3 separate regions of the Homo sapiens genome follow, and all the other regions are linked to region 1. The links are contacts of gene promoters, found by promoter capture Hi-C in blood cells and fetal thymus (Javierre and others, 2016). All regions are on one chromosome and are shown on one strand. Each heading gives the region's core, a stretch centred on a gene start or on the middle of the fragment in contact. The rest is flanking DNA. Distances are from core to core; before and after follow the strand shown.

Region 1 (2,766 bases), core at 185-2,684:
TGGGCTTAGGTCCTGTTTATACTTTGGTATCTTATTGCCATGGAGTCAATTCCGTCAGTCCTATCATCTCCGTTTTTTTTTTTGAAACAGAGTTTCACTCTTGTCGCCCAGGCTGGAGTGCAATGGCACGATCTCCGCTCACTGCAACCTCCGCCTGCCGGGTTCAAACCATTCTCCTGCCTCGGCCTCCTGAGTAGCTGGGATTACAGGTGCGTGCCACCACGCCCGGCTAATTTTTGTATTTTTAGTAGAGACAGCGTTTCACCATGTTTGCCATACCTCAGGTGATCCACTCCTGACCTCAGGTGACCCACCTGCTTCGGCGTCCCAAAGTGCTGGGATTACAGGCGTAAGCCACCGCGCCTGGCCTCTATTTTAACTTTATGGCCAGTCAGCTATCTCCTCTAAATCACAAAAGGGAGAGGGTATAACCAGGTCCGTCTGACCTCCCATCCCGTTATGACTGGGAACTCAGTTGTTAAGATTTTGCTGGTGTCCCCTTGGCCTCACGGGGGTCTGTTCAGTTGTTGGGGGGCTTAGGATTTTAAATTTACAGACTTCGAAGAAGGGAACAAGATACACGTGTGAGGGAATAAGAGGAAGTTACCCGAGTCTGAGTCAGTGCTTCCTTCTCCACCGTGTAACTCCAACTTAGAGTTACTGCCACTCGGCTTCTATCGGCCACGTCTCTCCTGGGAAGGCAGGCAAGGGACGAAATGGAGGGAGACAAGGTTTTCGCTAGGGAAGCCTCGGCCCAGGACGCAGCGCCACCCGTTTTCCAATCAGCGCCGGGCACTGCATTCCTCCTAGGTCTCTTTCTTTCAGTAGAGACCTTTTAATAATAAATACTACTTACATTGCTTTACAGTTCACACTTGCGGTCATTATTTCAGTGGAGCTTTTCAACAGCTCTGTGAGACAGGTATTATTTCTATTTCGGAGCAGAGAGAACAGCGCCCTTGAGCCACAGGGCTCATACATCCGGAGCCTATCACCACTCCGCATCTTAAGCTCCCGGGATGACCGCGGACTGGCGGCCCAGGACCACTGCTCCAGCTGTTTCCCCAGGTAATCCACCTGCCTTGGGTTACCTTTTAGCGCGGCCCAGTTAGCCGCAACCAGCCACCATTTACCCGCTTTCCCCAAACCAGGAAAACCACAGAAACGCATGTGCGCGGCCAGTCTCTTCCACGCCCGGGAACGCAGAGCTTACAGACCAAGGCCGCCCAAGTCCCCTCACCCCAAAGGCTACCCAAGAACCCCGAGTAGGCTGTTTGGCTGACTCAGGCGCCCAACGCCCACCCGAACTGAGTCGCTAGGGAAACTCCCAACTGCCAGCTCGCCCGACCGGTGTTCACAGGCCACTCTAGCCGGGCTCAGAGAGACCGCAGTCTCGTTGCTCCTGGCTTGACGTCATCGGCAGGCGCCGCAGCGCAGTGGCGGGCACGCGCAGCCGAGAAGATGTCTCCGACGCCGCCGCTCTTCAGTTTGCCCGAAGCGCGGACGCGGTTTACGGTGAGCTGTAGAGGGGAGGGTGCAGGCCTGACCCGGCGCTATGCTTTGTCCTCTTCTCCCTGAAATTACTCGAATTTTGCCCTGGGGTAAAGTGAGACAGAGGTGTGTCCGCCTCAGCGTCCGCTCCGGGCCCCGTCGGAGGTTGAGGGGTAGGGAAAGACGCACTACCCGCCTCTTCTTTGTGGGCTGGGCCGTCCGCCTCCGCCCACCCTCCAGCGGGTCCCCGGACTGCGTGCTGGGCGCCTCGGCTCCCCGCTTGGAGTGCCCACCTGCAGACTACTGCTGGTTGGGTCCATCCTCTCAGCTCGTTTAGTGGGGCAGGTGTCTCGAGAAGGGGAAGGGGAGCTGCTGAAGGGGGAGGGTGGGAGTGGTTTCAGTCCAAAGACCTGGCTCCCGCCCTAGCCTTCTGAGCTACCAAGTGCTTGTTCCCGCCGTCTCTTCACCACCCCTTAACCCACCGTGTCTAACTCCTAAGCGATCGATGAGATCCTAAGCGGGAAAAGGCAGATAGATCACCTTGGGAAGGGTAACCAGATGCTATTTTATTCTTGCTCAATGTGGAAGGGTGGTTTTGAGCATTTGGGAAACACTTGACAGATCACTTTCTCATTTAACTATTAGAGTAACACTGTGAAGTAGGCTAAGTTGGTTATTCCTGGTACATGAGGTAGAAGCTGACACCCCCCAAAAAGTTGTGACTTCAGTGGTTTTTCTGACTTTAGACACTCTGTTCTTTTTATGTTGCTCGTCACAGCAACGTAAGTATGAAGAACACTTTTAAGTTGCCTGACTCTATTCGTCTCTAGCATTTGCACCAACATTTCTCAGATATTCGGCTGTGTTTTGGTAGTTATAGGGATGCCAGGATGAAAATTGTGTGAAAGAAAAATTCATCCTTTGTAGTAAGTAGTTTTCTTGTTTGCAGGGTTATATATATATATATATACATATATATACGTATACGTATAATATATATATACACACACACACAGTGTGAGGTTTTTTTTAAATGGATTATATTTTGTGTATGTCATCATAATCATTTTCTTTGTGTGCGTTTTGCTGCAATCTCTGGTGCTTTGAAAGCCTGCTAAGAGTAACTGTTAGGACTATCCAAGATCATATTGGCGGCCGGGCGCAGTGGCTCACGCCTGTAAATGCAGTACTTCGGGAGGCCGAGGCGGGCGGATCACCTGAGGTCAAGAGTTCAAGGCCAGCCTGGCCAACATGGCAAAGCCCCGTCTCTACTAA
Region 2 (2,700 bases), core at 133-2,632, 260 kb before region 1:
TTTCAGGATGAGATTGATGATAAAACAGATGAAATACTTAGGCCCTAAAGACAGAGTACTAAATTTAAGAGGAGACTTTGGGTGAATGTATCCAGACTGGCCATGATGCTTCCAGGCTGAGCCAGGAAGCACCATCTGAGCAAATAGACTCTCCCAGAATCATTTTATGGCATTAACTTCACACTTAGGAGTTTATTACTTGAACCAGATCATTTCTGTTGCCATGCATAAATTTGTGTGTGCACCTTTGACCCTAAAATACAAGTGTGAGCATGCAATGGAAGACAGCAGTTGGCCCAAGACTCCAGAGTTCAAGCCCTGCCTCTGCCACTTAATAGACAGGTGGCCCAATGGAAGACACTCACTTTCTTAGCCTTATTGTTTGTATAAGTAATAATAGGAGTCATACATAGCCAGCTGGCCTAATGCCTAGGCTGAGTCCCATATGGGAAAGTGTGCTTCTACAGTGCAGACTTTATACATGTCTAAGGTGTTACTGTCATCAGATGGTGGTGGAGAATGTCTGGGTATTGGGAGCCCTGGTTTTAATTCCTACTTTAGTTGTATATCAACTGGAGACAATCACAAAAGCTCCTCAGGCCTGTTGACTCAATGGTCAAACGCAGAGATTTGCGTAGGGATTTGCTAGATATACTTCTGATATGAAAATTCTATTATGTTGGAAAATAATCTCTGATGTTTCACTCTTGTTTTTAGTTTTCTCATATAATAAAAGATTGAGTCTTGGATTTGGCTTTATGGAACTATATGTGAGCGTGCTTATGCAGAGGGGTTACTGGGGAGGAGGAGAGAGGAGAAGGGGAAATGGTCAAGAGGAAGGGGAGAGGAAATTGGAAAGAGGAAGAGGGATAAGATGTTACAACAGGCATTGTAGATTGGGAAAACAGACCACCTGGAACTGAAGGCCCCTGATTATGTGCTCTGAGGAAACAGGAGCCCAGGGACAGGGCGGATGTCGATGCTTTGACAAGCCCTGCTCTGGTCGTGAGTGAATCATCAGACTCACCTGCCTCCATCCCCAGCCCCACCCCACGCTGCTTCTGCTGTGCCAAGTATTCCTGATTTGGGTGTGGTCTTCTGCTTTCTCAACTTGTTTCTCTGAGAAAAATGACTTATCTAATTTAGGCACAATGACTTTGATAAGTGAAGAATTCCTTGGGAGTAATTACAGACAAATCCACATTAAACTATGGATAATTTTCTATTGAAATGGATTTCTTTCTACTGTTCTCAATTAAGATTCTGTCTTCTGGGACTCAGCTTCAAAGGTTGTATTTTTCTCCTTGTGGTTGCCAGAGACATTGTGTTACAATGACCATCTGGACACCAGAAGACCTGATTGCATCTAGCTCAGTCCTCCAGGCAAGACAGTAGGACAACAGAGATTGCATTATTTGGTCAAGGGAGGTCAGATATGTCAGGCAAGGCTAAAAATTTGACTTCTTAGCATTTTTTTGTTATTATTATTTTAATTGAGACAGAGTCTCGCTCTGTCACCCAAGCTAGAGTGCAGTGGTGCAGTCATTGCTCATGGCAACCTCAACCTCCTGGGCTCAAGCGATCCTCCCACCTCAGCCTCCTAAGAAGCTGGGACCACAGGTATGCACCACCATGCCCGGCTAGTTTTTGTATTTTTTTGTAGAGACAGGGTTTGCCATGTTGCCCATGCTGGTCTCGAAATCCTGGGCTCAAGCGATTCCCCTGCCTCGGTCTTCCAAAGTGCTAGGATTACAGGTGTGAGCCACTGCACCTGGCCTTATCAGCACTTCTTTTTGGTCTGAATCATTTTGGACAGTTAACTTAGTTCTCTGTTTCATCTTCTAAGACACATGTTCTGAGAAAAGAAATAAAGTCCCAAAATTAAATTTACAAAACATATCACTCTAGGGAGGTCCTTTCCATTTTTAAAAGGGAGAAAGCTGGAGATCCTGGAGGAATAGCTCCCAGGATTAAGTGCTGGGGAGGACCTTGCTTTTCAAGGGAGGATTTGGAAGTCCAGAGAGGTTGGGGGACTTGCCTACAGCCTTCGGTTTGCTCAAGGCCAAGCCAGCAAGCAGCATGACTCCCAGTATATTCTTTTTGTCTTAAATTTTTTTTTACCGTGAGAGACACATAAAATTTATTATCTTACCTTTTTTTTGTTTTGTTTTGTTTTTTGAGGCAGAATCTCACTCTGTCACCAGGCTGGAGTGCAGTGGTGTGATTTTTTGTTTGTTTGTTTTTGTTTTGAGACAGGGTCTTGCTCTGTCACCCAGACTAAAGTGCAGTGGCACAATCATAGCTCACTGCAGCCTCAAACCTCTGGGCTCAAGCAATTCTCCTGCCTCAGCCTCCCAAGTAGCTAGAGCTACTGGCGAGCAGCACTACATTCAGCTTTAACCTTTTTTAAGTGTACTGTTCAGTGGTATTAAATACACTCATGACGTGCAGCCATCACCGCAATCCATCGCCACAGCTCTTCATCTTGTAAAATTGCAACTCTGTGCCCATTAAACACTAACTCCACACTCTCTCCTCCTCGCCCTAGTCCCTGGCAACCATTCCACTTCCTGTCTCTATGAGTTTGATGACTCTAGGTACCTTCTGTAAATGGAACCATATAGTATTTGTCTTTCTGTGACTGGCTTTATTGCTTAGAATAATGTTCTCAGAGTTCACCCATGTTGTAAAATATCTCAG
Region 3 (2,751 bases), core at 11-2,510, 290 kb before region 1:
TGTGTGTGTGTATACATATATATATACCATTACAAATAATGGTGTGTATATATATCATTACAAATAATGGTGTGTATATATATATCATTACAAATAATGGTGTGTATATATACATATATATATATACACACACACCATTACAAATAATGGTGTGTATATATATATATGTGTGTGTGTGTGTGTGTGTGTGTATATATATATACCATTACAAATAATGTAATGGCATGTATATATATGTATATATATATATATATACCATTACAAATAATGGCATGTATATATGTATATACCATTACGAATAATGGCATGTGTGTATATATATATATACCATTACAAATAATGGTGTTTGGGCCGGGTGCGTGGCTCACGCCTGTAATCCCAGCACTTTGGGAGGCCGAGGCAGGCGGATCACGAGGTCAGGAGATCGAGACCACCCTGGCTAACATGGTGAAACCCTGTCTCTACTAAAAATTCAAAAATTAGCCGGGCGTGGTGGCGGGCGCCTGTAATCCCAGCTACTCGGGAGGCTGAGGCAGGAGAATGGTGTGAACCCGGGAGGCGGAGCTTGCAGTGAGCCGAGATTGCGCCACTGCACTCCAGCCTGGGCGACAGACTCCGCCTCAAAAAAAAAAAAAAAGAAAAAAGAAAAGAAAATTTTCATCTTCCCTGATGGGAGGATGCTGCTTTTTTATATTTTTGACAAATGGTTCAAAGTACACTGACATTCTCCATTTTGAAGAGTTGAAAAATAATCTTTTTTCAAGTCTAAGTAGGCAGATACAAGTGTTTTAACAGGTGAGGCACATCTTTCAGGCAAGAAAGTTACATAATAAGGGAAAGATATCTTTACATACTCTGCAGGGATCCTCTAGTCTCCAGTTTCTTATCTTTGACATAAGTCATTTTACTGTGTTTCAGTTCAACTGATACCTCCTAGTGCCTTATGGGTATTTTATTCCATTTACTCTTAGTGATAATTTTTTATGTCAAAGATTTAGACAGTGGATCATTTGAACACATTTATTGTTTTTATTATTATCGTATATTTGAAATACACAGGCAGGGGGGAAAATTGATAACCTGAACATCTACCATCCCTTTATTTTTGGCCCAGGTGGCATGAGCATTCACTGACATCCCTAGGTAACTGAGCTTTTTATTGTGACCACAGTGTAGGTTACACACAGTACACAGTAGGTGCTCAATAGGTACTATTTGTATGAATGAATGAACAAATGAACGACCTAAGTTTTTTGACTTCCATAGTTGGTGATCTGACATGTGGGACCACTTCTTATTTATCTCTGTATCCCAAGTGTCTAGTATAATGTTTGTACAGAGTAGGTGTTGTTAAATTTTTTTGGAAAAAAAGAAAAAAAAGACAATAGGAGGGAAGAAAAGGAGAAAAGAGGAGAGGGAAGAATTCTGTGTATTCTTATCTAGCTGTCTAAGTTAAAAAGAATACTTAGTGGTTTTGGCCAGTTCCACTTTGACCTCATTTAAAGCCTTTTCAGTGCTCATTTTGAACAAGAGCAGTCAGAAAAGATTCCAGGGATAGCAATTACCTCTCTATATGTGAAAATGTTTTCCCAAGGGATAGAAGAAATAGAGAATTCTATTTTCATAAATTCTCAAGGCTACTCCTAATTGCCTATGGATTGGAAAATAATCCTTTGTCTTTGATGTTATTCTTTTTTTTTTTTTTGACTAAGTCTCGCTGTTGTCGACCTGGGCTGGAGTGCAATGGTGCGATCTTGGCTCACTGCAACCTCTGCCTCCTGGGTTCCAGCAATTCTCCTGCCTCAGCCTCCCGAGTTGCTGAGATTACAGGCACCCGCCACCATGCCCGGCTCATTTTTGCATTTTTAGTGGAGACAGGGTTTCACCATGTTGGCCAGGCTGGTCTCGAGCTCCTGACCTCAAGTGATCCACCTGCCTCGGCCTCCCAAAGTGCCAGGATTACAGGTGTGAGCCACCATGCCCTGCAGATGTTATTCTTTAACTATCTTTTAAAAGATAAAAAGCCAGCAGAGGTCTGTGGCTGAATTGCATTCCTCCTACCTGAACCCTGGAAGTCTGTGGTGGTTTAGGATATAATAATACTTCAGTTTACTCAGAGGTGAAAGTGAATAAAGTATAGCAAACAGATGGCTGTTAATATTGCATGCAGCACTTTAAAAAATTTTTTTAAATTATTTAAAAAATGTTTGTGGGTACATGGTGTATATATTTATGGGGTATATGAGATGTTTTGATACAGGCATGCAGTGTGAAACAAGCACGTCATGGGGAATGGAGCATCCACCCCTTACACATTTATCTTTTGAGTTACAAGCAATCCAGTGACATTCTTTAAGTTATTTAAAAATATACAATTAAGACGGCGCTGCATGTTTATATGTGGGATACACATCCTCATGCTGATACTTTGCCTCATGCCAGGTTGTTTAATCAGTGGCTTTGACAGTTACACAGTTACCTGCAGTGAGACGCCAGTAATACTTATAGAAACCAACCCACCGTAAGCTCTTGCTGTGAAGGTATTTAAATAATTAAAAACATTCCTTTATCAAAGGAGTCTCCTTCTGACAGTGGAATCCATAACTTTTGCAGCTTTTCAAAACATTCAGATGAAAGAGATGGTTGTGTTTTGTGCAGCACCATCAATTTTTTTTTAATGAGACCAAACTTTGTTCAAAACTTCATGAATTAAGAATCTTAATAATTTTAGATTGGGGTACCCAGCTTCTC

What was found. Contacts are between HindIII fragments. The CHiCAGO score rates a contact against its expected background, and 5 or more counts as called.
Region 2: a fragment that was not itself captured here is called in contact with the fragment with the promoter of THOC1 in region 1 in 1 of 17 cell types (M2 macrophages); the score reaches 5.1 in M2 macrophages.
Region 3: a contact is called between a fragment that was not itself captured here and the fragment with the promoter of THOC1 in region 1, in 1 of 17 cell types (monocytes). The highest score is 5.1, in monocytes.

What each region holds. Positions count from the first base shown.
Region 1 is chr18:266,715-269,480 of GRCh38, reverse strand. THOC1 (THO complex subunit 1) reads left to right here and starts at 1,434. Exons shown (of 21, transcript NM_005131.3): 1 at 1,434-1,515. The coding sequence starts at 1,462. RefSeq lists a silencer at 526-705 and an enhancer at 1,096-1,565. The HindIII fragment of the contact is 5,170 bases long and covers 1-2,766 here.
Region 2 is chr18:530,545-533,244 of GRCh38, reverse strand. No RefSeq gene overlaps it. Among named protein-coding and RNA genes, the nearest start is that of LINC01925, 17 kb to the right of the region's middle. The HindIII fragment of the contact is 6,978 bases long and covers 1-2,700 here.
Region 3 is chr18:556,467-559,217 of GRCh38, reverse strand. No RefSeq gene overlaps it. Among named protein-coding and RNA genes, the nearest start is that of CETN1, 23 kb to the left of the region's middle. The HindIII fragment of the contact is 5,540 bases long and covers 1-2,751 here.